Regions from separate parts of the Homo sapiens genome. Here region 1 is linked to region 2. Evidence: promoter capture Hi-C in human tissues and cell types (Jung and others, 2019). All regions are on one chromosome and are shown on one strand. The core of a region is centred on a gene start or on the middle of the fragment in contact, and the rest is flanking DNA. Distances in the headings are between cores, read along the strand shown.

Region 1 (2,951 bases), core at 102-2,601, 260 kb before region 2:
CGGGCCGCCTAACCGCAGGGACCCCTCCCATCGCGGGTCACCCCCAAGCCTGCGAGAGGGGATCTGTCCTTGCAGGAGGGAGGCGCGGGGCCGGGCTGGTCTCCGGCCACAGCGAGTGGCCCCGGAGCAAGGTCAGGGGCGGTATCCAACAGCCCCGCGCCCTGCAGAGCCCTCTACTCTTAGGAGGACTGCGCGCAGGGACCGCCACGCAGAGTGGTTGCCATGGTGACTGCAGAGTGAGCGGTCCCGGGTTTTAGAGGGAGTCGCGCGCTTGGAGTAGGGGAAAGAGGGAGGCCGAGAGAGGACAAAGGGACAGGAGGGGAGAAGTGAGAAGGGTTGGCGGGGGGGTGAGGGGCTGAACGCAGTGGACGGGAAAGGCCAGCAAAATGGCGAGAGAAGGGACACAGGCGAGAGGAAGGGGGAGTGGAGGCGAAGGGGCGAGGCAGGAGCCGACGCGGGGGCCACCTGGAGCGGTGAACGGAGAGCGCGGCCTGGCGACTCCAAGACCCGCTGCCCCTCGGCCCGGCTTACCGGCCCGCCGCGCCGCCCGGTTCCGCCATTTCCCGTTGCTAGGCGACGCTGTCAACATCCGGCCGGGCCGGGACCACGCGCGCTGCGAGGGCGGGGGCCGCCGGGGGCGGCGCGGCCTTTGTGCCATCTCCACGCACGCAGAGGCGCGCGCCGTCTCGACGTGTCGTCCCTTAGACTGTAATGATTAGAGCACGACCATGCTTTTCCTTTATCGCTCTCTGCGCCCGGGTCCCGCCTCGGCTGCGCTCAATTTCTGTAAAGCGACAGCGGCGTCAGCGTGTGCCCAGCGGGCGGCTCGAGGTCCCGAAGGGACCTGCCGGGCACCTGGGGACCCCGGACTGCTAAGCGCCCGGGAATGGCAGGCGGGCTGGGGGCACCGGGGGCCGGGGACCCCGCGCATGGCGAGCGCTTTTCCATCTCCTGCCCTAGGGGGCTCCGGTGCCCTTCTCCAGGGGTCCTACGGAGACTCCTTGCATGGACGCCCGGGGGGTCTTCCGGAGCGTATCTTCCCTTCCTAGTCCGAAATAGGAGAAATCTCCCTGCAGAGGGCGGCAGCGGAGGGCCAGCGCGCACGCGGAGCGTCCGAGGAGCCCTGCCTTTCCTTTGGGGACGCCAGGCTCGGGACGGGGCACAGTCCCCGAGGCCGGGACGCGGCGAGGCCTGAGGGAGGGCCAGCAGGGAACTAGAGGCTTGGGCCCAGGGCTGGGCCAGAAGGTGGGCGGGGAGACCGGCGGGGGCAGGCAGGGGCCGGGCCGGGGGCGGGCCCGGGGGCGGGCCGGGGGCCGGGCCTCCCCGCGCGTCCCCGCCCCGCCGCGCCTCACTGGCGGCGGCAGCGGCGGAGGCGACGGTGGCGGCTCTCGGAGCCGGCGCGAATCCGGCCCCCGCAGCGGGACCCGGGTGGGTATCGGGGCCCGGACGGGGCCGCGGGGGCGGGGTCCGAGGGGTCCACCGCGCAGCGAGCAGCGCCCCCTCGGCGGAGCTGGGGCGGGGGCGCGCGGGGCGCGTGGGGCGCGTGGGCCTGCAGCCGCGGGACCGGGGAGGGGCCGGGGTCCGGCCGCCGTCCTCGGGGTGCGGGGCGCCAGCAGGAGCGGGAGCGTTGTGGGAGGACCTGGATCACGGAGGGGCACCTGGGGACTTTTCCCCGCGGCGAGTGAGGGCGCCCGGGCCCGGAATGGGCCTAATTCGGGGAGACTGGTCCCCGCCTGTCTGGAGCGGTGGACCGGGGAACTTGCGGTCTTTGTCTGGCTGAATCGGCGGAGCAGACGGATGAGAACTTGTGGGGTGCCGGCGCGCGCCCACACAGCCTCCAAAGTGTGCGTCCCCCCAGCAGCGCGCGCTCAGCTTTCCCGGCCTGTCGGGCTTGGTGGTCTGGGCTGTTTAAGATCCGCGTGTCGGGATACTCACTTCCGTTCCGCCTGGGCTCCCTTGTTCTTTCCTTTGGGAAAAAAAAAAAAAGAAAAAGAAAGAAAGAACGAAAGGAAGGAAAGAAAAAAAGGAAAGGCAACTGAAGATTGCTAAACATAACCTAGGGGATCCTGCCGGAAGCCGCTGAATCCTGAAATCCTGTGATTCCCACACTCGGAAGCTGGTGTCGTATATTGGCCACAAAGTAGTTCAGATTTGATTCAGAAATAGGAAATGAATAGAAAAGACATAACAAAAGTTAGTCTCGCCTTATGGTAAAGTTTGTTTTACTGTCTGGGTCAAGTTCAAATGAGAAGCTGGGCTGATTGGCCAGCCTCTGCGACTTGATCCTGAAGATCTGCTTTCTTTTCTACCAGAAGGCTCCTAATTCTTTTATCTGGAATAAAAAGGGAACTCCGTCTTAAAGATGCTCACGTGAGGCGGCATATTGCCAGAGGGTGGGCGCAAAGACTGGGGGCTGGAGATTCCATTCCAAATCTGTTACTGATTGATCAGAACACTTTTTCAAATCCATGCCTCAGTTTTAGAAAATCCTCATTAGAAACGCTAACAGTAAAATTGGTGAATACTAAACACTTTTAAGAACCATGAAAGCTTTTGTAAATAAAGAATAAAGTGAGGAGTAACTTTTGGTATTAACTACAAAGTTCATTAATGGATGTTGTTTGCATCCTGAGCGTGGTTATTGTGCGCATATTTTTTTGTAAGTGGCATGTTTATGGTGAGACTATGGCTAACGAAAGTTTTTATGGCGAAAGTTTTTATGGCTGGGCGCCGTGGCTCACGGCTGTAATCCCAGCACTTTGGGAGGACGAGGCGAGCGGATCACCTGAGGTCAGGAGTTCGAGACCAGCCTGGCCAATATGGTGAAACCCCCCATATCTACTAAAAATACAAAAATTAGCCCGGTGTGGTGGCGTGAGCCTGTAATCCCAGTACTCAGGAGGCTGAGACAGGGGAATCGCTTGAGCTCGGGAGGCGAAGGTTGCAGTGAG
Region 2 (2,700 bases), core at 152-2,651:
CTAAGGGACCTCAGACCACAGCCCCAGCTCCAGCCTCCCGGCAGGCGAGCAGCGCCCAGCACGACTCCAACCAGCCACCGTCCCTCCCCCACACCCTCCCCAGTGCTGTCAGCGTCCTCACTTCTTCTGGAAGGCCAGGAGCAGCCTCGGGTCCAGGATGTTCTCCTCCGGCTCCCAGCTGTTATGTCTGCAAAGCAGAGGACAGGGCAGCATTAGACGCCAGGCTGATGATCACCGCTTTGCAAGGCAGCCCGAGGGGGCTCGCCCTCACCGCTCCTCGACTTGGGCCGATGGCAGTGGCACCGTAGCACCATGGCACTTCTCAAAGTCCAAACCCAGGTTTTGGAGGCTGGCCACCCCCCACCAAGCCAGCACTCTAACCTCAGACCCAAAGGGAAACTGCCGCTCCAACCCCCCAATTAAAACAAGGCCACAAGAGGACTCCCACAGTCTCTGCCTGGGAGAAAAACAAACCCCCATAAAACGCAAAGTTGCAGAGAGGGATTCCCCCAAACCCTGGCCCGGAGCCAGAGGAGGAAGGGAAGGCAGGTCCAGCATGCAGGGAGGGGCACAGGCGCCCAGCCCGAGATCCAGAACAATGTGGCGCGCGGGCCGGGGCACCTCGAGGGGTAGCGAAGAAAGAGCGGGGTCCGGGAAGACGCAGAAACGGGGCCGCGGGAGCAGCTGTGCAGAGAGCCCCTTCCGGGGATGCCAAACACCCTCCCTTCCATTAAAAGAAAGAAAAAAAAAAAGAAACTCTACATCCATCAATAGCAAGCTCAGGTTACAGCGGGGAGAATCTGGCCAAGAGGAGGGGGGCTTGCATCCCGCGCCTCCCTCCCGGCCGGGACGGGGGTTGGGGGGAGCGCGGCGCGGCAGCCGAGGAGGTTCTGGCGCGGGGGGCCGCCCAGCTCTGCACCCGCGGGCGTGTAAACAAAGGGCAACCTCGGGCCGGGCGGCCCCCGCCCCCCTCAGAGCCGGAGGAGCCCGCGGGGACCCCGCGAACTTCCCGCTCTGCCCGCGGGCGCCCCCAGGCCACCGGACGGCGCGGCCGAGGGGCTCCACGTCCCCACCCCCGGGCGAGGGGGCGGGAGGGGGGCGCGGCGTCGCGGGGGACTCACTTGGAGGACCAGCCGCGCCACTTGACCAGGTACTCCAGCTTGCCCTGCGGGGAGAGAAGAGGGGCCGTGAGCCAGACGGACAGCGGGCGGCGGGCGGGGGGCCCGGCGGGCCGCACGCACCTTGCGGAGCCGCTTGCTCAGGATGCACTCGGCGGCGAAGACCTGCTCGCCCACGCTGCTCAGCTCCTCCATGCTGCCCGGCAGCCAGCCCGACCGCGGCGCCCGCCGCCAGTCACCCGCCCGGACCGCCGCGCGCCCCGCCGGCAGCACACAAAGCACCGCCCCCGCCCGGCGCCGGCCCGCCCCGCGCACGCGCACCGCCGCTCCGCGCCCGCGCCCCGGCCCGCCGCCCGCCCCCGCGCGCTGCCCAAATCCCGTGCGGGCCAATCAGCGAGGGGGGGCGGGTGCGGGGCGGGGCGGGGCGCGCATTGTCCGCGGCGGGCTGGGCCTCGCGCTCCGGCGGGGGGTCCCGCGCGGGGCCCCGGGCGGGGGCGGGGGCGGGGGTGGGGGCGCGGGCGGGCCCCTGGCTGGGGGAGGAGGTGCCTAGGGACTTCGGGCCTGGGGCGCCCACCGAGTCCCGCGTGATTCCCGGGGCGCGCCCGCCCTTGCTCCCAACTCCGTTTTCCGGGCAAAAAGCCATTGTTCTGGCCCGAAGGGAGGGAAGCGGGACGGGGCGCGGCGGCTGCTTCCTGCCCCCGCCTTCGAGGGGCGCTGCTCCGGGGCACGCGGGGCCCCACCCTTCCCCCGGCTTCTTGAACTGGCTTTTCCTCGGCAGCGGGGGAGTCGCTCTGTTTTGGACGAGAGCAAAACGGGTCGGGGGCTGGGGAAGGAAAGGAAGACGAAGTCCGGGGGAGGGGCCCACAAACCCCAGCAGCCGAGGCTTTTTCCCCCAAAGGCGAGAGAGGAAAATGCTTTAACTTAAACCACCAAGCACTCTGAGAAAGAAGTAATACGAACTGCCCGGAGTTCTTATTAAACAGCTATGAAAAGTGGATCCAGCCCCCGAGTTTTAGGGCACGTGTAGGGAGAAAACCAGCTGCACCTTTTCTGAATTTGTTCCCCGATTTTGATGAAATGGAGGGGGAGGGGGCGGTTTGCAAGGCTGTTCCTAACTTCGGACTAGGTCAGTAGTGGCCCGCCAGGGCTGGGCAGCCGGCGTCCTTCGGATCAATTGTCCGCGGCAGAAAAGGGTCAGGCCATGTTATGAAAGTGGGGGTGACCCCTTGTCCTCCCTGTGATCGTCGTCAGCAGGCTACCCTTTTATTCCGGTGTTAAGATTCGAATTCCATGAAGAATCACCCTTTAAGTTATTTAGATTTTGAATCAGGACAAGTCAAACACGTAATGAAAGAGACCTGAGCCTTAGCTTCATTCGTCTCAACGCAGTCTAACTCCATGAAAATTCACTCTCTGCTTTTCTTGCTTCCTTGAACACAGCTGCAAAATTCTCTTTCTGTTGAGCAGATCCAAAAGTCGTTTCTTGTTGTAGGAGACTGTCTCAATGTAATTGTGATCATCAAAACCATATTTATAAAGGGTTCTGCAGGAGAAATGTGTTTTTTTGTTTTTACAGAAAGGC

Evidence for each region. Contacts are between HindIII fragments. The study calls those that stand out against the background at their distance.
Region 1: a contact is called between the fragment with the promoter of TBC1D16 here and the fragment with the promoter of CBX2 in region 2, in 1 of the 25 tissues and cell types used here (pancreas).

Annotation. Positions count from the first base shown.
Region 1 is chr17:80,034,272-80,037,222 of GRCh38, reverse strand. It overlaps TBC1D16 (TBC1 domain family member 16), which reads left to right and starts at 1,351. Exons shown (of 12, transcript NM_019020.4): 1 at 1,351-1,428. CCDC40 (coiled-coil domain 40 molecular ruler complex subunit) reads right to left here and starts at 581. Exons shown (of 20, transcript NM_017950.4): 1 at 532-581. The coding sequence starts at 560. RefSeq lists enhancers at 1-73, 973-1,092 and a silencer at 1,283-1,352. The HindIII fragment of the contact is 13,824 bases long and covers 1-2,951 here.
Region 2 is chr17:79,776,849-79,779,548 of GRCh38, reverse strand. CBX2 (chromobox 2) reads right to left here and starts at 1,401. Exons shown (of 5, transcript NM_005189.3): 1 at 1,242-1,401; 2 at 1,122-1,165; 3 at 122-187. The coding sequence starts at 1,313. RefSeq lists an enhancer at 148-741 and silencers at 1,137-1,206, 1,217-1,596. The HindIII fragment of the contact is 15,418 bases long and covers 1-2,700 here.